Linked DNA regions of Homo sapiens: regions 2, 3 and 4 are each linked to region 1. Evidence: promoter capture Hi-C in human tissues and cell types (Jung and others, 2019). All regions are on one chromosome and are shown on one strand. Each heading gives the region's core, a stretch centred on a gene start or on the middle of the fragment in contact. The rest is flanking DNA. Distances are from core to core; before and after follow the strand shown. Region 1 holds the start of RNF183 (ring finger protein 183). Region 2 overlaps RGS3 (regulator of G protein signaling 3). Region 3 overlaps RGS3 (regulator of G protein signaling 3). Region 4 overlaps RGS3 (regulator of G protein signaling 3).

Evidence for each region. Contacts are between HindIII fragments. The study calls those that stand out against the background at their distance.
Region 2: a contact is called between a fragment that was not itself captured here and the fragment with the promoter of RNF183 in region 1, in 4 of the 25 tissues and cell types used here (liver, mesendoderm cells, spleen and 1 more).
Region 3: a fragment that was not itself captured here is called in contact with the fragment with the promoter of RNF183 in region 1 in 2 of the 25 tissues and cell types used here (IMR-90 fibroblasts and mesenchymal stem cells).
Region 4: a fragment that was not itself captured here is called in contact with the fragment with the promoter of RNF183 in region 1 in 2 of the 25 tissues and cell types used here (IMR-90 fibroblasts and spleen).

What each region holds. Positions count from the first base shown.
Region 1 is chr9:113,301,003-113,306,882 of GRCh38, forward strand. It overlaps RNF183 (ring finger protein 183), which reads right to left and starts at 2,374. Exons shown (of 5, transcript NM_001371237.1): 1 at 2,054-2,374; 2 at 1,193-1,311; 3 at 670-749. RefSeq lists an enhancer at 4,645-4,814. The HindIII fragment of the contact is 15,296 bases long and covers 1,699-5,880 here.
Region 2 is chr9:113,540,040-113,545,919 of GRCh38, forward strand. The region is part of intron 17 of RGS3 (regulator of G protein signaling 3); the gene reads left to right. Among named protein-coding and RNA genes, the nearest start is that of RGS3, 79 kb to the left of the region's middle. RefSeq lists enhancers at 1,078-1,577, 2,302-2,817, 2,818-3,333. The HindIII fragment of the contact is 4,573 bases long and covers 652-5,224 here.
Region 3 is chr9:113,491,117-113,496,996 of GRCh38, forward strand. It overlaps RGS3 (regulator of G protein signaling 3), which reads left to right. Exons shown (of 23, transcript NM_001394167.1): 6 at 4,670-4,730. Among named protein-coding and RNA genes, the nearest start is that of RGS3, 30 kb to the left of the region's middle. The HindIII fragment of the contact is 6,530 bases long and covers 152-5,880 here.
Region 4 is chr9:113,469,350-113,475,229 of GRCh38, forward strand. The region is part of intron 1 of RGS3 (regulator of G protein signaling 3); the gene reads left to right. Among named protein-coding and RNA genes, the nearest start is that of RGS3, 8.6 kb to the left of the region's middle. The HindIII fragment of the contact is 5,234 bases long and covers 1,018-5,880 here.

The DNA of each region.
Region 1 (5,880 bases), core at 1,124-3,623:
AAGCCACTTCCCAAGAAGCAGTGGAGTTCTAGGGATCCAGTTGTAGTTTCTGTCAAGGTTCATGATGCCAGATCCATGGCTATTTAGGGCTGTGATTCCAGTTGAATTGCTTGACCTCTCTGTGCCTCTATTTCTCCTTGTGCAAAGGAAGCCAAAACTAGTAAAGCTTTTAGTTAGAGCCCAGCACCCAGTAAAGACCACAAAGCAATGCATGACCTAAAAATGGGACTATGTTCTCAGAAACACATCGTTGTATGAACAGCACAGAGAGTATTTACACAAACCTAGATGGTAGAGCCTGCTACATGCCTAGGCTATACGGTCTAGCCTGTTGCTCCTAGGCTACAAACCCATACAGCTTATTATGTTCTGAACACTGTAGGCAATTGTAACACAATGATAATTGCGTGTGTCTTTCAACATAAACTTAGAAAAGGCAAGGTAAATATATGGTATTATAATCTTAGGTGGCCACCATCACATATGTAATTCACTGTTGATCAAAACATTGTTATGGATATATGAGGCAGTTGAAATTATTAATGCAAATGGATTTGAGAGAAAGGAAGGGTCAAGGTTGATTTCAAAGCCGTGACAAAGTCCTCTGCATCAAGCTTTGAGAAGCCCCTGAATCCCAGAGTGTGTTAGAAGCAGATCTTTAATACTTACCAGAGGCCGTAAACTGTATGTAACCTTGACTCATCATTTCCCCCACTGGGAATCGATTCCACGGAAACCATCAAGGACTTCTGCAAAGATGTGAGTAAAGAGATGCCCATCCAGGCGCTGGTTTAACGGTGACGTATGGAGAACTACGTCATCATCCAGTAATAGGACATTGATTAAGTAGATTCTGCTCCATCCATAGGAAGAGATATTATGCAGCCTTTAATATGATGTGGTAAAACTATTAATATGGATATATACCTAGGATATAATGTCATTAAGCGAAAAAGAACCAGCAACAAAACCATATTACCATATAATCCAATTTCCAAAAGTGTGTGTGCAATGGAAAAAATGTCTGGAGAGATAAACAACCAGATATTAGCAGTGGTTATCTCTGGGGGCAAGATTATAAGTTTTTTTTTTTTTTTTAATTCTCTTACCTGAAAATTCTAACTTTACTCCATCCAGTAAGCTTGTATTACTACACGTCAAGATCTCCTGTTTCCCCCCAAATCAGACCTACCTTCTCTGAAGTTCCATGGCCAGAACTGTAAAAGGCTGTCCAAGAGGAGGAAGCATCATTATTGCCTGGATCTTTATCTGTGCTGCTCTCCCAGGGATCCACTGCTGTTTCAGGATCAGCTGGGGAGAGATTCTGGCCATGTATCACCTCCACCCCAAGCCAGGACATCTCAGCTACAGTAAATCCTAAACACCGCCCCAAAGTCATCTCCTTGGTCTATGAACAAGTCATCGCCAAATATCAATTGTCCCCAGCATCACTCCATTGTTTTCAACCAAGAACTGGCATTTCCATAGCACTTCACAGTTTACAAAGGGCCCTGGCCCTTGCTAAGATCTAAGTGTGGTGATCCATCTAGATAGGTTACTAGCCTTTTGGGATTTTTTGTTGTTGTTTGCAGAAAGCCATTTGATACTCTAAAACCACCCTGTGAGAGAGGCTGAATGGGGAGTAGAAAGGTGCCGGCTTTGGAACCAGATTTGGAACAATTTGTCTTGGACAAATGGCTTAACCTCTCTGAACTTCATTTTCCTCTGTAAAAAAGGCTAATCATCCCACTCCTACAAGGTTGCTCTGGGGAAGGAATAGTCTATACGGTGCCCAGTAGAATACGGAAGGCGCTCAATACAGAGTTAGCATGATTATTTTTAGACCCATTTTCTAGATGGGGAAGCCAAGGCTCAGAAGGGTGAGGCAACTTGCCGAAGTCTTCCCAGCTAAAGAGTGGCTGAGTTTGAAAGATGAACCCAGTAGCCTGCCCTCCCAGGCCAGAGTTCACCTGTCGCGCGCTGCACGGCTGCTGCCTCTCTGGACTCTGGAGCCCTGTGACCCGTCCCTCCGCGACCCTCTCTGTCTCCTTACCTGCTCCCTCGGAGCCGCCTCCTCCGCCTCCGTTCGTGCAGCCCTGCACGCATGTGCTTTGTTTTCTGACTTCCCAGGCCCGATTTCCAGGTAGCGTGGGTGGGTCTTATTTGCATAGGTCTTAGCAGCGTTTGGCCAGCTCTCGCTGTTTCAGGTTTTCTTCTTCCTTCTGGTGACTTTGGACCTCCTGTACACCCTGGAAGCTTTGGTTGCTTTGTCTTTCTCCTGTGAGTCACTCTGGCTTTTTCTCTGAGGGGATCAAGTGCGCTCATCCTTGCAGGCCTCTGTTCTGGGTCCGATTGATCTCCTGCCATCCCCTCGGATTCCACTGTCCTCTGTGCGCTGACCTGCCTCGACTCCTGGCTTCTGCCGAGATGGATCCTTCCCTATGCTGAGTCCCTGTAACCAAAATACAGATAGCTCTTGCAAAATACTGACAAAAGCGGCCACTAATACAGCAGAAAAATAGTCGGGAGACGGTTGAGCGTCTGCCTGAAGAGCCAGGGTTCTCAAGCAAGGCACACTTCTAGGTCAGAGTTCAGCCCTCACTGAGAATCCAAACTCCGTTTAACTACCGATGGAGACTTGAGCAAATTAATTAACTTCTGCCAGCCTCAGTTTCCTCACCTGAAAATGGCCATAATAACCTACCTACTTGATCTGTAGATTAAATGAGGTAATACGTGTCGAGATCGCGTAATAACACAGGGCCTGGCAGACAGTAACTCGCTAAATGTTAACCAGAACTATTATTGTTATAACCGGTCTGTTCACGTGGCCCATCTTTTGTTCCCGCTCAAATTCTTTTTGTACCTATGGTCCTCTTTTCTTTCTCTCTCTCTTTCTTTCTTTTTTTTTTTCTTTCTTTTTTTTTTTTTTTTTTAAGACGTAGTTTTGCTCTGTCGCCCAGGCTAGAGTGCAGTGGGGCGATACTGGCTCACTGTAACCCCCACCTCCCTGGTTCCAGCAATTCTCCTGCCACGGCCTCCCGAGTAACTGGGACTACAGGTGCGCGCTACCATGCCCGGCTAATTTTTACATTCTTAGTAGAGACAGGATTTCGCCTTGTTGGCCAGGCTGGTCTCAAACTCCTGACCTCAGGTGATCCACCTGCCTCGACCTCCCAAAGTGCTGAGATTACAGGCATGAGCCACCGCGCCTGGCCCCTTATTTCTTTACTGACATTTTCAGCCATACTTGAGAAATAAACAAGTAAATAAATGTATCTGCTTGGTGATGTAATCAAATGCCCTAGTCCCCGCATTTTGTGTTTTTTTACATTAATTTTTATGTATTGATTTATTTTGAGACAGAGTCTCACTCTATCATCCAGGCTGGGGTGCGGTGGCACGATCACAGCTCACTGCAGCCTCAACCTCCTGGGGTCAAGCAGTCTTCCCACCTCCGCCTCCTGAGTACCTAGGACTACAGGTGCATGCCACCGTGGCTGGCTAATTTTTGTATTTCTTGTAGAGATGGGGTTTCTCCAGGTTGCCTAGGCTGGTCTCAAACTCCTGGGCTCCAGCAATCCACTTGCCAAAAGTGCTAAGATTACACTTGAGCCACCGTGCCCACATTTGATTTTTAAATAGGTAATATATTTACATGGTTGAGCATGTGAATGGTTTGATTTCACAGTGAAAACTGTCTCTTCGCAGCCACCTAGTTTCCCTGGAAATCAAAGTATTATACTATCAGTTTGTTGTGTATCTTTCCAAAGATGTTTTATACATACACAAACAGCATGTCCATGGCAAAACATCTATGTATTCCTTTACCTCCTTTTTACACAAATGTGCATATTATGTACACTGTTCTGCATTTTTCTTTTTTCATTTGATGATGTATTTGAGATATCATTCTGTATTAGTACATAAAGACCTTCTTCGGTTTTTGGCCCAGCGCTGTGACTCACACCTGTAATCCCAGCACTTTGGGAGGCCAAGGCGGGTGGATCACTTGAGGTCAGGAGTTCAAGACCAGCCTGGCCAACATGGTGAAACCCCGTCTCTACTAAAAATACAAAAATTAGCCGGCGTCATGGTGCACACCTGTAGTCCCAGCTACTCAGGAGGCTGAGGCAGGAGAATCGCTTGAACCTGGGAGGCAGAGGTTGCAGTGAGCTGAGATTGTACCACTGCACTCCAGCCTGGGCGACAGAGCAAAAAAAAAAAAAGAAGACCTTCTTCGGTTTTTTAATGGTTGTATCAGATTTCATTGAATGGCTGTACCATAAATCACTTCACCAATCCCCTATTGATCTAACCCCCTCATTATAAATATATAAATATTGAATGAAAGAATAATGCAAAAATGCTGATTTTAAGTTAGCCTAGAATTGTGTGAAAATAAAACTGTGGACTTTGGGAAGTTTTAGATCTCTAAAGAAAATGTCTAAGTAATTCTCCTCTTTCTGAGCTGGAGACGAGGTATATGATCACCGATGGCCTCAAAGTTCCTCTCAGCTCTGGAATTCCCTGCTTTTCGGTGTCACTACTGGTTAACTGAGGTTACTGGGGATTCGAGACACTGATTTAGTCCAAAGAACCTGGTTTGTATTTGAGAGTTTGGAAGTCACGCTTTCTGGCTTGGCAACATAAGAAAACATAAAGAAGTTCATCTACTTTGACCTAATCATGTAATTCCCCAGAAGCATCAAAAAGATATATTTTGGTTGAGTGAGGATATTCATTGCAGTTTTATTTTAATCACAAATGATTGAAAACACTCCAAAACCCCATCAATTAGGTGAAAAACTACATAATCATTTAAAATGATATAGAAAGATTTTCATTGACTTTTAAAAATGGTCACAGTATACTGTAAATGGAGGGGGAAAGCAGCTTAAAAATGGTGCATGTTGGCCGGATACGGTGGCTTACGCCTGTAATCCCAGCACTTTGGGAGGCCGAGGCAGGCGGATCACAAGGTCAGGAGTTTGAGACCAGCCTGGCCAATATGTTGAAACCCCGTCTCTACTAAAAAATACAAAAAAAAAAAAAACTTAGCTGGGCGTGGTGGCAGGTGCCTGTAATCCCAGCTACTTGGGAGGCTAAGGAGGCAGGAGAATCGCTTGAACCTGGGAGGCGGAGGTTGCAGTGAGCCGAGATTGCACCACTGCATTCCAGCCCAGGCAACAGAGAGAGAATCCATCTCAAAAAAAACACAAACAAACAAACCAAAACCAAAACAAAACAAAACAAAAAAACGGTGCATGTTGGCTGGGCACATGCCTATAATCCCAGCACTTTGGGAGGCCGAGGTTGGAGGATTGCTTGAGCCCAGGAGTTCAAGACTAGCGACCCCATTGCTACAAAAAATAAAAAAATAAAAAATTAGCTGGGCGTGGTGGCACATGCCTGTTGTCTCAGATACTCAGAAGGCTGAAGTGGGAGGATCACTTGAGCCCAGAAAGTCAAGGCTGCAGTGAGCCCAGATTGCACCACTGCACTCTAGCCTGGGCAACAGAGCAAAGACCCTGTGAAAGATAGAAAAGAAAAAAAGAAAGAAAAGAAGAAAAGAGAGGGAGAAGGAAGGAAGGAAAGAAGAAGGAAGGAAGGGAGGGAGGGAGGAAGAAAGGAAGGGAGGGAAGGAGGAAGGAAGGAAGGGAGGGAGGGAGGGAGGGGAAGGAAAAGAAAAGAAAAGGAAAGAAAGAGAGAATGTAGCATAAGCCAGATTTTGTAAAGCATAATTTATGTATAAAGACTGCAAGACCATGAGGCAAAATGTCACAATTTTATCTCTGGGTGATGGCCACTCATGTTTTCGCTTTCTTCTTGCTTACATTTTCCAAGTTCTCAAATATGTATTACTTTTGTAGTAAGAAA
Region 2 (5,880 bases), core at 1,688-4,187, 240 kb after region 1:
TTTGTAGAAATAAATGAACTACTTTCTCTCTTGTCTCAACTTCCTACTCCTGTTCATCACCCGCTCCTTCCTTTTCAGAGCTCTGCCCCTCTGTTGCTTCATTATCTGTAGCTGGGGGGCGCCTACCTTTCTTCTTCTGCCTGGGAATCCTTGTACTAAACTCCCTGCATGGGGACTGCTGCGAGGCTTCTAATCTAGAATAACTCAGAGCTGGGCCCACCTGTGGCCATTCAGGTTCTAAGCTAGAAGGGAGAGACAATTATATATTCTTTTGATTATTCAAGCAAATATACATAATAAATGCCTTCTCAGTGCCAGATACTGGTTTAGATCCTTTGGGATCACAGAGATGAATGAGACCTGGTCCCTGTCGCTATGGAATTCTCCTAATAGGAGAGAGATGAGGAGGGCACTGGAGTGGTGATCTAAGCATGAAAGCCATGCTTGCGGGTCCTAAGAAGGATCCAGTGGGGTCCTGGCTATCCAAGCATCATCCGTGCCGTGAGCCTCCTGCTCAGTACCCTTCATGTGCCTGGTGCTGGGCTGGGCTCCAGGAAGCCTTCTGAGAAGCATGGAAACCAAGCCTTTAGGATGAGAAGGGCAGACACAGTGCAGTGGGGCCTGGCCCCATTCTCAGGGCAGGTCCTGTGCTCCACGGGGAGGGACGCACAGAGCAATCCATCACCCCCTTTCCTCGGGAGATCACAGTCTGGTGGCAGAGACAGACATGACAGATAGTTCAAAGTAACACAGTAAGCAATGTGACCTCAGGTGAGCCAGTTAGCCTCTCTGAGACTCAGTTTTTGCATCAGTAAAGTGGATGGATTAAGAGGCTTCTTGTGAGGATTGAACTCAGGATGTGCTTTGCAAAGTGGCATGCAAGAGGAGCTCTGAACTAGCCGCTATCGTTCTCACTGTCATGGTTTTAAAGTGCTGTCCATATGGGAAGATTCATCGGGGGCCTTGTTCATTGAAGCTGCTGCTGGTGCTCGGAGCACATATGACAACTGCTCCATGTCACTTCCTGGTAGACATCTGCCATATTCCAGGGGCCCAGGCAGGGAAACTGAGGCCTCCTTGTCTGCTCTGGCTCTAAGACTTCTCCCAGATGTGACGGTGAGGTGCGTGCCACCTTGTCATCTCCACTGGGGCCACTAGAGACAGCCCTGGAGATGCCAGGGTGTGTGAGTGCCTTAGAAAGGAACAGAGGCAGGTCCTGCAGTCAGGCAGCCCGGCCTGAGTAGACAGCGAGCTAATTCCAGTTCTGTCTGGTTCCACAGAAACTCCACCCTTTCGGCTCTCTCCAGCAGGAGATGGGGCCGGTCAACTCAACCAATGCCACCCAGGATAGAAGCTTTACCTCACCAGGACAGACTCTGATTGGCTGAGCAAACCCAAGGGCGGGACTCTGCTTCTGGCAACTTAACCCTTTCTTGGGCATCCCCTACCACACAGTAACCTCACCTCAACTGGACCTGAAACAGAGGACCAAGATGGTGGGTCTAGGGTCATCTGAAGGGAGTGGTCCCAAGGGTGCATGTGGATGTCAACAGAAGGACCACAATGGTGTGAGAGGCCTTGTGGGCATGCAGAGACTGGCAGCAGAAAGTCCCAAGAGGAGAGGACTCAGAGGCTTCTTCCTTCCAAGGAGGAGGAGGAGGAGGACATTCCACATCTGGGCTTCCAGTGGTGGCTCCCGGACCTGCCTTGGGGGCAGCAGGAGAGGTTGGGAGAGGTCACCCTGATGAAGAACAATGCCATGATCTGCTGCTGCCAGAGGACATCTCCGCCCATCCACTCATTTTCCACCTGTACACATTGGCTCATTCATTCGATGGATATTTCGGGTGCATCTACTTTATGCCAGGCTCTATGCTAGGAGCTGGGGATACTGTGGAGAAAAAGTCGGATATGGTCTCGCTCTCATCAAGATTTCAGTCTAGCTGGGAGTGAGCGTTAAATAAGTCAATACCAACACACACACGTGCACACACGTGATGGCAAGCTGTGATCATCTATGAAAGAAAAAACACAGATTTCTTTAAGAGGGAATTGTACTTAGAGTGCTGTGTGTGGGGGTGGGGATGGGGAAGGACATAACTTTTAAACCGAGACTTGTGGGCTGGAGAGGAAGGAGCCAGTCCTGGACTTGGGGAAGAGTGTTCGCGGTGGATGGAATAGCACGTGGAGAGTCCCTGAGATGGGAAGGAGCTCAGTGGGCTGGAGGAATGGCGAGCAGGCCAGTGTGGCTGGAGCTTAGTGAGGTGCAAGACACAGTGGGTGAGGTAGTTGATGTCTTGTTGATTTCATTCTAGATACACTGGAGAGCCATTGAAGGCTTTTGAGGAAGGGAGTTGCAAGTACATTTTTACAAGATCCGTTTACACATAGGAGGGGCCCAAGTGGGTGTGAGATCAGTTAGGGGGCTCGTTCAGTTCTCTAGGTGAGGACTGTCCTGGTGGCTTGTCCTGGATGGTGGCTGGGGAAGTGGATGCCTGAATGCCAGGCTCTGGAGAAGAGATGACTCCCTGCCCCATCCCCCTGCCTACCCTCCTCCTCAATGGCCCCTCTCTCAGTGGATGTGAGTGAGGATTAGGACCTTCCCCACAGAGCCACCTTTTGGCCAGGCCTCGTGGGGGATAGTGGGGGCAGTGCTGAGTTCTAGGAGTGTTCCTGGAAGTTGGGGGCAGTGAGTGCTCAGCCTGGCCCAGGTGGGAGAGTTCACTGCTGCCCAGGCCTTAGCAGGGGCTGCTGTGCTGTCTTTCTGTCCCATGCTGAGCATTGTGATAGGAAGCTGCCACACAGTGCCCTGGAAACTGACTTCGCATGCTTTCCATGGGGCTTCCGAGGGCCAGGGACTGGGCTGGGGGTGGCCTAGCAGCTCTAGTGGAGACTGTGCTGCCGCAGGGCTGAAGGAAGACCAACCAAGGGGACAGCCGTTTGAGCCCAGCCCACTCACTGCCTGCTGCACCTCCAGCTGGAGCCCAGGGTTGGGCAGCTCTCATACTCTTATCTAACTGCCAGACCTAGAGGGAGGGAAGCCCAAGGCTGCAGGTCTGAGGGACACGGCTCATGGGCAAAAGGGTATCAAGAGGATTAGAGTCACTTGCATAGGAAAAGAGGGTCAGAGAGGCTGAGGGCTGGCTGAGGCCAGAGAGGTTCCCTGACCTTGGACATTCTTTGTGTTGTGTAAGACCTCGGCATCTTTAGAGAAAGGTTCTTGTGCCCCTGTGAGCTTGCTCAGCTGCTATGGCCACTTGAACCCCAAAAATGGTGGCCTAGAAGAGAATACACCCCTTACTTCCCACTTATCCTCCTCTCAACCTAGGAAAGATCAGACATATTGACTCAACAGTCTAACAGGGGATGGGCTGGATCTGCCCGTGACCAGACCAATGCCCCCCACCCAGCAAGGGAGTAAACGCTGCCTGAAGTGGGACCAGTGATACACAGCATCTCTGTCTGCCAGGGCTCAGCCCGCGGGGGGGATTTGTGAGAGGCTGAGCAGCTGGGTCTGCACAGACAGCAAGCTGCACTTTGATTTCATTTGATTCCCTTACAAAATGACATTAAGGGGAATGTGAGGCACAGGAGACTCGCCTGTCTGGGAAGGCAGCAAGCTCATCTCTCCTGGACCTGGTGACCTACCTCTGTCTACCAGACAGGTGCAGAGGACAGGAGCTCTGGCCACAAAGAAATGGACAGTCTGAATGCAGCACACAGCCCTGGGGACAGGACTTTTCACCCAGCCTGTCCTGACAAGCTGCTGAGTCGAGCAGATGCTCACATCAGGGTCCCAGGTCCGGCTGTTAGGGAAGTGGACATCAGTTCCTGGTGGGCCCTGGGCAGTGACTGTGGTGAGCCACAGCACCATTGCTGCTCTGCCTCTCAAATCGATCGAACAATTAATTTGGCTCCACAGGCTCGAGAAGATGAAACATGACCTGATGGCCACTGCTGTCCAGCATCCCAGTCCATCCTAGCTGTCCAGGATGATGAACAAGCTATGGAAATTGCACTTGAGAGCTATAATCACGGGAAGCATTGCCGAGCCCCTCCCTGCTACATAAATCATGCTAAGAAGCACACAATGGCCTCTTTCCTGATGGGCTAATTGTCTTGGTTTGGTGTCTCAGGCCCAGGAGCTGGGAAGATGGGAGCACAACCATTTATTGTTGGAAAGACCATCTGTGCAACTTGAATACAAAGTGATTCTTTTAGTTCCCCACACACCCCCGACCCTCTGATCCCATTTTCATGTTTTTTTTTTTTTTTTCTTTTTATGTCTCAGGCTCTGGTTCTTTTAAAACTCTTCATCTATCCTGTAAGCCATCAGGCCTGGATCTCTGCTGGCCTGGGTCTTTTGGCTATTTGGGGGTTGGGACATTGCAGACCTTTTGGAAATAATGACATTTATTTATATATGTCTTATATTTTTATTCTTTATTTTTCCCCATAAATTCTATTACCAAAGTCCTCATTTGTCACACATGGCACCAAGGCACCAAGAGGGTTTTTGCAAAGTGAAAATGCAGGCAATTTTGCAACGTGGAAGGGCTCCCCACAGCGAAAGTCCCACAGTGAGAGCCTAAACTTTGGAGATGGCAACTGGGGTCCCCAGGCATGATCTCCCCCCAGCCTCCCAGCAGCCTTGTTTTATGGATGAAAGACACCAAGGCTCTGAGAAGTTAAGTGTTTTATCCTAGGTCACACAGCTGGTAAGGGCCAAGCTTGCCCTCAAGCCAAGGCCTTTGAACCTAATCTACCACTCATTTCTGATAAAAAGGTTTGTCTTTTAGGGATAGAAGTAAGAGAAATCAATAATCTCCAGGAAGAGGCAAGAGAGGGATATCCGGCATGTCAGAAGCTGTGGCCCATCAAGCTGTAGAGGGAATGCTTTTAGGATAAATAAAATGAGATGCCTTATTTTCCACCCAGTGGAGAATAAACTTCCAGAATGCATTTTCCTGAGGGTGGCACAGGCTGAAAAGATCAATAGCTTCCCACAAGATTTGAAAAAAGCCTAAAATGAGAGATCAGTTTGAGCTCCTTAAGACAGGTTCTCAGGGAGCTCTGGAATGGTTAGGTTACACCCCTTCCCCTTTTGAATTTGGCATCAAAAGGATCAGCAGACAGAGTCATGGAGTGCTTGGCAGTGATGGAATATTAGCCAAAGGCAGAGAGGTATAGCTTCAGGCTCAGGCTGGCTTGTGCCCAGCGTAAGTACTGGAAGGAGGCCTTTGACCTGAGACCAGCTGAGGGCACAGAGAGGGCCTGCCCATGTGGAACCTGCCAGGTTTTGTGCGCAGATTTTGCTAATTGACTGATTTAGTATCTCAGCCCTGAATAAAGGGGAATCAAATGGATCTGATTTCAGCCATCTCCCCTAAGAGATGCAGACTCTTCTCCCTAAAAACTGTTTCCAGGCAGCCACCAGCTCTCCTCCCCATTCCTTGCTGCTGTCCTATCAGTGGACAGACTGCCTTCTTCGCTGTCTTGCTCTTGGTCTCAGCCATCTTGCTATTGTTTTTTTTAGCCCCTGAAGAAGACAGTGCAACCTTACCCTCTATCCTGTCTTCGCCTTCTCTTCCTCGAAGACTTTCTCTGAATAGGGCCATCCATCCTCCAAACTGTTCCCAGATCCTTGGTTTTAAAGGTAGAATGATAACATAAGGTAACCTGGTGGGCACTTACAAGATGAGCCAGGCACAGGGTCAAGCTTTTTACCTACCCTGTCTCATCTAATCCTCATGCAGACTTACAAGGTGTGTTACCCCTGTTATACATTTACTCTCATTATGCCCAATTTAGATATGAAGACGCTGAGTCTCAGAGAAGTTAAGAAACGTGCCCAAGGTCACACAGCTAGTGGGTAGCTAG
Region 3 (5,880 bases), core at 2,167-4,666, 190 kb after region 1:
ATAGAAATTATATATACTAATATATAATTATTTATATATTATATATATTCTTTATATATTATTATATATTAATTATATGTAAACATTATTTATATATGTAATTAAAGAATGTTATATATATGTAATTAAAGGGCATAATCTTTTTTTAAAGTAATTTTTTTTTCTTTTTTTTTGAGATGGAGTTTCACTCTTGTGCATAATCTCAGCTCACTGCAAACTCTGTCTCCCAGGTAGCGATTCTCTGGCCTCAGCCTCCCAAGTAGCTGGCACTCTGCAGGCGCATGCCACCATGCCCAGCTGATTTTTGTATTTTTAGTAGAGATGGGGTTTCACCATGTTGGCCAGGCTGGTCTCCATCTCCTGACCTCAGGTGATCCACCCGCCTTGGCCTCCCAAAGTGCTGACATTACAGCCATGAGCCACCGTGCCCAGGCAAGGACATAATCTTTTTTTTTTGAGATGAAGTCTCTCTCTGTTACCCAGGCTGGAGTGGAATGGCGCGATCTCACCTCACTGAAACCTCCACCTCCTGGATTCAAGTGATTCTTCTGCCTCAGCCTTCCAAGTAGCTGGGATTACAGGCGCATGCCACCACGCTTGGCTAATTTTGTATTTTTAGTAGAGACAGGGTTTCACCATGTTGGCCAGACTGATCTCAAACTCCTGACCTCAAGTGATCTGCCTGCCTTGGCCTCCCAAAGTGCTGGGATTACAGGCGTGAGCCACTGCGCCCAGCCAGGGCATAATCTTTTATACTAATAGTAGGTACATTTAGGGAGATTCTACTTGTGATTTGCCCTGCACTGTCCCAGGCACTGTAAGTGTATGCTCTCCTTTAATCTGTTTTATAAATGAGATCTCAGTGCCAAGTACAGTGGCCTAACGTCAGAAAGCTTGTGACCAGTGATGGGTACTGAGCTTAAGGAAAAAGTGAATGGAAAAATCTAAGTTCAATTTAAGTCATCAAATTAAATATAAATTAGGATTAAATGGTATAACCCTGTAACAGAAATAATTTACCTGAGAGGGAGAACTAAAGTGCATTTCCTCAAAAAATAATCTATTTTTTCATCTTGTAATGAGTCTGCAACCCTATGCTCAAAAGTAAACTGAATACTATTCCCCATATGTGCTGCATGAAGTTACTTCAAAGCCTTTGTAACGGCTGTTCCCTCTGCCCAAAATGCTCTTCATTCTCTCTGGCTCAGTTCATAGGTCTTCTTCCAGCCTGTGAGCCCTAAACTACCTCTTGTGTCCCCGAGCCTTCAGAATTTGTTGCCTGCACTGTTCATCTGTCAATCGCACCCTGTCTTGTGACATCCCCTGTATTGCTGTCTTGAACTGCTATTTAAATTCCTGGATGTTTGTGTTGTTTCCTTAACGCTGTGGCTCCTTGCCCAGTGCCTGCCAACCGTGGACGTGATGGATTCATCCATTTGTCAAGCCTTCACTAAGTGCACCAAGCCTGGAGCTCAGGGACTGGTAGTCAGAATTAACCAAGGCTTGGTTCCGGAGACTTTGCATCTAGTGAGAGTTCAGGCACTCCCGAGGGTGAGCGCTAGTTCCCAAGTTTATAAACTGACTGCTGTATTGTCATATACTCAGGTTGCTTTAAAAGAAGTCTTTCTTCCTCCAAAGATTTTTCAAAAGCAGGCATAAGAAATAGCTAATTGAAGAACACTTAGAGAGAGGTTCCTGCTTATGGACATTAATTGTGGCAATTTACGCTGCCTGAGTTACCATGAAAGCATGGGAGGCCCCTTAGCAGGAAGTAAAACTCGAGGGAGGCTATTAACCATTTAACATTCTCTAAACACCAGGGAATGAAGATTTCGCTTAGTGAAGAGCAGAGAGAGGTTGCTGAGCTAATGCATTGGCCTGGAGACTTTGAAAGTTTCAGCCCTACCCAGTAGGAAAGAAGTGTACAACAGAGTAGTATGGGCACCTGGATAGCAGCTGGAGTTCTCTTGAATGTGTGACAAATAAAATGAAATTGGTATGAGGACTTTGGCAAAGTCTTGCCAAGGCTTTTCTGGAATGGCAGCTCAGATTAGTTTTGGCTGTTTATGATAGTCACTGCAACTGCCTCCTATTAGTGCTGACTTGGCTACTTCCCAAGGGGGAGGAGTATTTGTTTTTGGTGGTGGGCTGGGGAGGTGGATGTGGAAGGGCACTTTATTGGGGTGAGAGCATTGTCCTTTTTGAATAGATTATTAATAGAGCCTTGGATGATGAGAGAGGCAAGGAAGAAGGCAGCAGATGGAGCCAAGGCTGAAGGAGCTGGGAGCAGGAGTGATGAACTGAGAGCAGCTGTTGAGAGACAGCCAGAAGCAGGGGCCTCAGCTCTGGGCCATGGGGCAGAGCATGGGTTTGCAGGCAGGTGGACCAGTTTTGAGGAGCAATCCCCCAGCATCCTGCCTCCCCACCCCTCGCTTGACTTGGCTGCCTGTGAGAAGCTAGTTTTGTTTTGCTTAGGACTGTCCGGTGGTAAGCTGCCACGCTTTCTGGAGAATCTGAACAATATGTCTTTTTTGAGACCTTCTAGATCACTGGTCTTTGACTGGGGCAGGCATAAGTGGGTGCTTGGCAGGATACCCTGGAGAGCTTTCTCCAGGCTCCCATGCTCGAACCCCACCTTGGACCAACTAATTTTGGGTTCTCAGGAAGAAGTCCTGGAGCATATACCTCAGACAGGCTGTTCAGGTGGTTTTGTGGTACACTTCTGGATAGAACCACTGCTCTAGCTCAGGCCCCCTTAGACCAGGTTTTGGAAAACACATCTCTAGGGAGTTTACTACCTATCCAGAAGCCTGTTCCATCTTTGGTTTTGATATTGTGCCTTCCATAGGACATGCCAAATCTCTCAGCTATGTGGGTCCTTCAGCTATTGAAGCCAGCCTCCAGGGTTATGCTCCAGCCTAAATATCCACGATGTTTCTTGATTAATAGTTATTAAACCAACCTATGAATTAGTCCAAGTTGAGGATGGGGTAAGAGAGAGGAGAACAGAAAGATGACATTAAAAAAAAACTCTTACTGTCAGGATAGAACAGGATGTGGCACAATAAAAGTCCTTAAAAGTATATTGATACTGTCTTTTTTTTTCTCCTGATTATAAAAACGATACTTGTTCCCTATGCAAACAGTGAAAACCCATAAAGGAAAATTAAACCCCTAGTAATCCCACCTACCAGATATGACCATTGTTAGTATTTTTGTGGGTGTCTTTCTCATTAAACTCACATTACTCATTAAATTTACAGCTTTGTAAACTTCTTTTTCTCTAACAATATCAAGATATTTTTGGACTTTATTAATATTAACTGATGTTATCATTATTATTTTTTTGAGACAGTGTCTTGCTCTGTTGCTGCAACTGCCTCCTGTTAGTGCTGACTTGGCCACTTCCCAAGAGGGAGGAACAGTAACACACAATCACAGTTCACTGCAGCTTTGACCTCCCAGGCTCAAGTGATCCTCCTACCTCAGCCTCCTCAGTAGCTGGGGCTACAGGCTCATGCCACCATGCCCTGCTATTTTAAAAATTTTTTGTAGAGATGGTGTCTCCCTTTGTTGTCCAGGCTGGTCTCAAACTCCTGGGCTCAAGTGATGCCTTCCAAAGTGCTGGATTACAGGTGTGAGCCACTGCACCTGGCCCATGCCATCATTATTAAAAGCTGCCAACTCTTAGTCCCTGATTATTGGACATTGAGCCTCAATGGTGGACATTCTTCAGGAACTCTGAATTCTTCTTCTTCTTCTTCTTCTTTTTTTTTGAGATGGAGTCTTGGCTCTGTCACCCAGGCTGCAGTGCAGTGGTGCGATCTTGGCTCACTGCAACTCCACCTCCTGGTTTCAAGTGACTCTCCTGCCTCAGCCTCCTGAGTAGCTAGGATTATAAGCATGCACCACCACGTAGGGCTAATTTTTGTATTTTTAGTAGAGACAGGGTTTCACCATGTTGGCCAGGCTGTTCTCAAACTCCTGACCTCAAGTGATCTGCCTGCCTGTGCCTCCCAAAGTGCTGGCATTACAGGCGTGAGCCACCGTGCCCAGCTGTGAATTCTTTTTAACCAAGAAGATTGAATTTAGCCCCTCGCCATAGTCTGACATCCCCATGAGGCCTGACCCTGGCCCATGCCTACCTGCCCTGCTGGTGGCCAGGTCAGATTGGTCTCAGCAGCTTTTGTGTCAGGTTGGTTTGGACCTTGATCTGTAGCCATCTAAGAACTGCTCAGCTCCTTCCTGGACCTGAGATAGAACTTCTTGAGCTTGAGGTCCCATAACTGTTCTCCTCCACTGAGCATCACCAATGATGTGGGCAAGGAGGTTCCCTGTGGGGACCAGCTCTTCAGATCTACCTAGCACCAGAACGGTTAAAACTCATGAAGTACCGCTGAGCTTCTGTGTTTGGTAGAGGCAGTGCTGAACTTGTCCTGTGACCTTGGGAAAGGGACCAACTCTGAGTCTCCATTTTTCCCTCTGTAAAATGGAGATAATAGCTCCTCTCTATCCTGCCTCACAGAGTCAGAAGGATCAAACGAGATGATGTGGGTAAAAAGCTTTGTAAACCACAGTGCATCAGGCAAACCCATGCTATACTTGATAATGGACCTCCCGATAGAGCCCAGAAAAAAAATGCTGACTCAAGTCTCACTTGTTCTCCCAGACAGAGTGGACTCATTGGCTGCATGAGCTTTGGGGTGAAGTCTCTCCTGACTCCAGACAAGGTGGGTCCTAGGGATGCTTCTGTCAGGATCATCCCAACTGGGCCGGGGCTGGTACAGGCAGAGTTTCTCTGTCAGCTCTTGGGCAGGGCTTCTCTCTGTGAGATGGTGCCCCACTGAGACAGGTGCCCTGTGGGGTGGCCTGCATAGCAGCACTGTGTTTATTACCTGCCTAGCTGAGAGTTTGGGTCCCCTTCTTGGTTTGTCTTGCCAGAGAGCAGTTTGTTAGGCAGCCCCAAGTCTTCCCAGGAGGCTCTGAGTCTGGTGTCTGCTGTTGAAGACATTGGCAGATCCCTTGGGGCCCAGAGCACTCCTGGGCCTGCCCCAGAAGATGAGGGCCAGGTGCACCCGTGGTCCGTTCCAGGGGTCCTCTTCATGTGTCTACCAGGCCTGATATTTCTGGGCCTAACAGGTGCTCAAGGATGGAGTGAGCAGCACCATCCTCTGTGGAGCTTTCCTTCAGGCTGGAGGAGGACTCTTTGGGACCCAAGACTCCTAGCTCTGGGTCACTGGTCCCTTATCAATTTCTACGCTGCACTGGACTCCCCAAACTGGAAGGTGGAGGGTGGGGAGCACTCCTTTTGCACATCCCTGGAAATGTCCTGGTGGCTTGTGGCATGGCCTGCCACGCAGATTTTTGTCCTGGGGTGGGTGGCTGAGGACCCTTTATCCTGCATGTGAGTCCTAAAGAGCTTCTCTCTCTCTCTCTCTTTTTTTTTTCTTTTGAGACGGAGTCTCACTCTGTTGCCCAGGCTGGAATGCAGTGTTGTGATCTTGGCTCGCTGCAACCTCCGCCTCCCAGGTTCAAGCAATTCTCCTGCCTCAGCCTCCTGAGTAGCTGGGATTATAGGCATCTGCCACCACGCCTGGCTAATTTTTGTATTTTTAGTAGAGATGGGGTTTCACCATGTTGGCCAGGCTGGTCTCAAACTCCTGACCTCAGGTGATCCACCCGTCTCGGCCTCCCAAAGTGCTGGGATTACAGGTGTGAGCCACCGCGCCCGGTCTAGAGCTTCTCTTGACTGCAGCCTTGGCTTCATTCTCCTAGAAAAGATGTTCCCCCTGGAGACTGCTCAGGAGCCACAGGATGCCTTTTGGTCTCTCCATCCCTCTTTCACTCCTTCACTTCTGTTCTGTCAACAAATATGGCTCC
Region 4 (5,880 bases), core at 2,385-4,884, 170 kb after region 1:
CTGTTTCTCAGGAGCTCATCATTTGCTGGTCATACTCCTCAGCATTTATTGGCTTTTCTGTCATTCAGAGTCCAACTGCTCAGGAGCTTTCAGAAATTCCTCAAAGTTTCTGGCCCATAGATAGCCCTTTGTCCTCTTTTCCCATTCTGCTTTGTGTGTTCTTCTTAAACATTTAAAAAAGTTTGAAATATTATACAGACAGACAGAAAAGTGTCCCCCCAATAATGTGCAATCCAGTGACTTCTCACAAAAAAAAAACCTTTGTAACTTTCACCAGAGTCAAAAATTGAACATTTCTAGTATTTAGAAGACGCATGTTGATAATGCAGTTTTTTTCTTTATCATTTACTTCAAAATATTTTCTAATTTTCATTGTCATTTCTTTTTCAATCCTTGGGTTAGTTAGAAGTATATTTCTAAATTTCTAAATATTGGGGATTTTCTGGTAATATTTTTATATTTACTTTGCATTTTAGTCAGAGAATATACTCTCCATCCTTTTAATTCCTTGAAATTAATCAAAATTTACTTGATGCCTCAGCATATAGTTGTTTTTTTTTTTTTTTGTCGTTGTTGTTTTGAGACTGAGTCTTACTCTGTCACCAGGCTGGAGTGCAGTGGCGCAATGTAAACTCACTGCAGCCTCCCCTTCCTGGATTCAAGCAATTCTCCTGGCTCAGTCTCCCATGTAGCTGGGATTACAGGCACCCACTACCATGCCTGGCTAATTTTTGTATTTTTAGTAGAGATGGGGTTTTACCATGTTGGCCACACTGGTCTCGAACTCCTGACCTCAGGTGATCCACCTGCCTTGGCCTCCCAAAGAGTCAATTTTTATAAATGTTCTTTGTGTATTTGAAAAGGATTCTGCAGCAGTTGGGTGCAGTGTTCTTTGTGTATGTCAAGTTTAGGTCAAGTTTGCTCTTTATATTGTTCAAATATTCCGTATCCTTGTTGATTTTTCCTGTTTTCTCTGTCAGTTCCTAAGAGAGGTGTATTAGAATTCCCACTGTGATTGTAAATTTGTCTATTTCCCATTGCAGTTCTGTCAGTTTTTCCTTTACATATGTTGAAGCTATGTTAACAACATACAGATTTAGAATTATTATCTTTCTGGTGAGCTGAAATTTTTATTATGAAATCTATTATTGTTATGAAGTCTTCTTTATTTCTAGTAGGTATAAAGTCTAATTTTCCTGATATTAACATAGCTAACCATGCTTCTTTCATTTAATATTTGCCTGACATATCTTTTTCCATCCTTTTTCTTTCAACCTTTTTGGATCTACATTGTAGGTGTGCTGTGTCTGCTGCAAAGAACAGGCACATGGCTGGGAGTGGTGAGTGGCCCATGCTTATAATCCCAGCACTTTGGGAGGCCAAGGCAGGAGGATCACTCAAGCCCAGAAGTTCGAGACCAGTGTGGGCAACATAGTGAGAGCTCATCTCTACAAAAAATAAAAAAATTAGCTGGGCATGATGGTGTGCACCTGTGGTCCTAGCTACTTGGGAGGCTGAGGAAGGAGGATCACTTGAGCCTAGGAGGTCAAGACTACAGTGAGCTGTGATTGTGATACTGTACCCTAGCCTGGGTGTCAGAGTGAGACCCTGACTCAAAACAAACAAACAACAAACAAACAGTATAGGCAGAGAGTTGTTGTTATTATTATTATTTTCTTCTCAATGCAGACCTAGGATGATATTTTCCTTCAAAAAATCTTTGTTCGTTTGTCAGGTGCCTAGGGTCACTGGGTTAGTCTTAATTCAGTGTTGGGACTGAGAGTACTTGAAATCGAGCTGTAGTCCCTGGAGTAGCTGTGTCTGATTACAGTTCACTCTATTCCTATGGAGCAACCCTTCAGGGTCCCTATGCAAAAGGTGGGGCTCAGAAGAACCCTGCTTCTTGGTGGGCCCTGGTCCCTAGTTCCTATTCCTCTAGCCCTGAGAAGCAGGCAGAAACTCACTCAGTCTCTTGATCTCTCAATCAGCCCTCTGGAATTTGAAAACACCCCAGGAGGAAATTAGCCCAGAAAAACACTAGGTTTCCTTCTACAGTCCTCCATTCCCCTAGATCCTGCCTGGTAGCTCCTCTCTCTCTTGTTGTTTATCTAAGAAGATGCTTTAACATATTTTGTTTAGCATTTCTAGTTTTCCTCAGTGGATCTGTCATCCCAGAAATGGAAGTCCCCTACATATATTTTCTAAGCTTTTTTGAGTTGGTTTTTGTTTTTTTTTCCCTCCCTTTCTGCCTCTCTCCCTCCTTTTCTCCTCCCTCCCTGCCTCTTCCGTCCCTTCCTCCCCTCCCCGCTCTCTCTCTCCGTCCCTCCTTTCTTTCTCCCTGCCTGCCTGCCTACCTGCAGTTGTCCGAGCAGGCATTACTGGGGCTGGAGGGTCCCTTTCCAAGATGGCTCATTCACATGGCTCTCAGCAGGAGGCCTCAGTTCCTTGCTACCTGTAATTAGGAGGCTTCTGTTTCTCATCGCATGGACCTCTTCGTAGGATTGCTTGAGCTTCCTTATTATGTGGCAGCTGGCTTCCTTCTAGGCAAGTGATACAAAAATGAAAGCAAGAAAGAACTCCCATAAAAAGATGAGTAACCCAGCTCAAAAATGGGTAAAGGATTTGAATAGACATTTTTTTCCAAAGAAAAATGGCTAACAGCATGTGAAAAAATGCTCAATGTCATTAGTTATCAGGGAAATGCAAATCAAAACCACAATGAGATACTATCATACTAGAATGACTATAATAAAAAAAGAGCCAATAACAGGCGTTGAAGAAGTTGAGGGGAAATTGGAACCCTTGTACACTGCCGGCCGGAATGTCAAATGGTGCAACCACTTTGGAAAAGTTTGGCGGTTCCTCAAACAATTAAATGTAGAGTTTCCATTTGACCCAGCAATTCCACTCTTAGGTATAAATCCAAGAGGAATGAAAACACATGCTCACACAAACATGTGTACACACACACATGTTCATAACGGCATTATTCATAGTAGCCAAAAAGTCGAAATAACCTGAAATATCCATCACCAGATGAGTGGATAAACAAAATGTGGTATATCCATACAATGGAATATTATTTGGCCACAAAGGGACTAAAATACTGATACGTGCTACAATATGGGTGAACCTTGAAAACATTATGCTAAGTGAAAGAAGTCAATCACAAAAGACCATGCGTTGTGTGATTCTGTTTACATAAGTATCCAGAATAGGCAAGTCCTTAGAGACAGAAAGCAGATTAGTGGTTGACAAGGGCTGAGGGGAGAAGGGAATAGGGTGTGACTGCGAAAGAGTATGGGATTTCTTTTAGGGGAGGATGAAAATGTTCTAAAATTAGATAGAGGTGATTGATTACAGAATCCTGTGAATATACTAAAAGAAAATTACATGCTTTAAATTGGTGAAGTGTGGCCGTGCACGGTGGCTCAATCCCAGCACTTTGGGAGGCTGAGGCGGGTGGATCATCTAAGGTCAGGAGTTCGAGAGCAGCCTGGCCAACATGGTGAAACTCTGTCTCTACAAAAAATACAAAAAATTGGCCAGGTGTGGGTGGTGCATGCCTGTAATCCCAGCTACTCAGGAGGCTGAGACAGGAGAATAATTTGAACCTGGGAGGCAGAGGTTACAGTGAGCTGAGATCATGTCATTGCACTCCAGCCTGGGCGACAGAGTGAGACTCCATCTCAATAATAAACAAAACTGATGAAATGTATGATATGTTAATTATATCCCAATACAGCTGTTAAAAAAAGAAGGAACTAATAATACCTTTAATATCCTAATGTTGAAAGTCATCCACTGTCATTTCTACCACATTCTATTTGTTAGAAGCAAGTCACTAAGTCCAGCCCATGTCTGAAGGGAGGAACTAGGCTTCACCTCTTGAAAGGAAGAGTATCAAAGACTTTGTGGACAAATTTTAAACCCATGATAGGTATAGAGAGGCTAACAGTGGGGGCCCTGGACTGCCTAAATGCAAACCCCAGCTCTGCCACTTACTGGCTGTGTGATTTGGACAACCTGTTTTAGCTATTTTCTTTTTTTTGAGTTGGGGTCTCACTCTGTTGCCCAGGCTGGAGTGCAGTGGTGTGATCATGGCTCACTACAGCCTCAACCTCCTGGGCTCCAGTGATCCTCCCACCTCAGCCTCCTGAGTAGCTGGGACTACAGGTACACACCACCACGTCCGGCTAATTTTAAAAAAACGTTTTTGGAGAGACAGAGTCTTGCTATGTTGCCTAGACTGGTCTCAAACTCCTGGCCTCAAGTGATCATCCTGCCTCAGCCTCCCAAAGTGTTGGGATTACAGGTGTGAGCCACCATGCCCAGCCAACCTGTTTACCTCTTAATAATCTTCAGCTTCCTTGCCTGTAAATTGGGATAAAAGTAGTAACCATTTCACGGAGTTATTGTGAGGAGTAAAAGAAATAAAAAGCTTATAGTAAAGTGCTGAGTACCTAGTAAACATCTAAGAAACATTGACTTTGTTCTCTCCATGTGTGTGCCTAGCCTGGTAGTTCACTATGGCCCTGAACTCTGGGTTGAGATGTGTGTGAATCCTGTAGGATGTTTGGATCTGAGCCCCACAGGACTGCTAGTGGTGTTATGATCCAGCCAAGATTAGATGCTGACTGCAGTAGATTCAGGAGTTTTATTTTACCAGCTTGCCCAGGACGGACCTAGAATCCCTTGTGAGTGATCCATGGGAATCTAAATTATCAAGAGACTGAATGCTAATTTATTAGTTTATGCTGAAAAATAGAATTTCTGAGTAGACTAGAAGACTTATGCTGGCCGGAGCAATCTCTTTCTGTAAGGAAAAAGAGCTTGGGAAACTACATTAATATCAGCTTTCACAGGAAGCAGAGAGGCCAGGGGATTGAACTGACCCATCACAATTTTTATGCCAGTGCTGTGTGTCCTATGTCCTCACCTTCGCAAACCAGGGCCACTTTTTTGAATGGAACTCAGGGTTCTCCTTCTTTTAACACAGTAGCCATGGGAAATTCTCCTGGGTTATGTCCATAGAGCTGTGTGGCTGCCTGTTTCCCAGCGCCACTGCAGCCTACCATTTCTCCCTTAGATCAAGCAGGCAGTGAAATTGGTAAACACATGCTTAACCATTTCTGAGCCTGGATCAGGGCTGGGGTGTGGATGAGGCAGCTGAAGACCACAGAGAGAGGGCGTGCCTGGCATCTGGCTGGGCACCCTCCCTCCTGCGAGGAAGACTTGAGTACAGACGTGTCCTCATAAACGGAGGGGAAATCTGTGGATGTTAGCGGCTGGCTAGGCTCCATGTAGACCCAACTGCCTTCATATGTTTGTCTGGATATCATCACCCTTCCTGTAGCTTTTAACATGTGACAGTTCTTAAATGGGCAGCGGCTTCTGGGGTGAATTGGATTTTAGGATGCCTGCTGCTTCATGCTAGCCAGGCAAGTCCATCATAGATGTATTCTCTGCACATCTCAGGGTGGCATGGGCTCCCACTGGGACACATTCCGGCTGATCCCTGAGTCTAGCAAAGGTGTGCAGTCCCCATCTACTTCCTTTATTTTCTGAGTATGTCTCTTTCTGACTGTGGCCTGTGGGTTAGAGTTCATCTGTGGTTCTCTACTGAGTATTGTCTGCCAGACTGAATTTCTTTAGCTGGTGTCCACATCCATTTAAAAGTGCCCAGTAAGTCTGAGCCCTTCAAGTCCTGTGCCCAGCAGAATTTGGGTTTGTTGCCTTTTCCAGGCTTTCTGAAGCTCATTCCCATCCAGTATTTTTCCTGCCATATGGGGCCCTGTCTATTCTCCCTTTGGCTCTGGGCCCTGGTACACACTTGCAGCCTCTCTGGGCATCCATCACCACCACCTTTTGCACATAGTG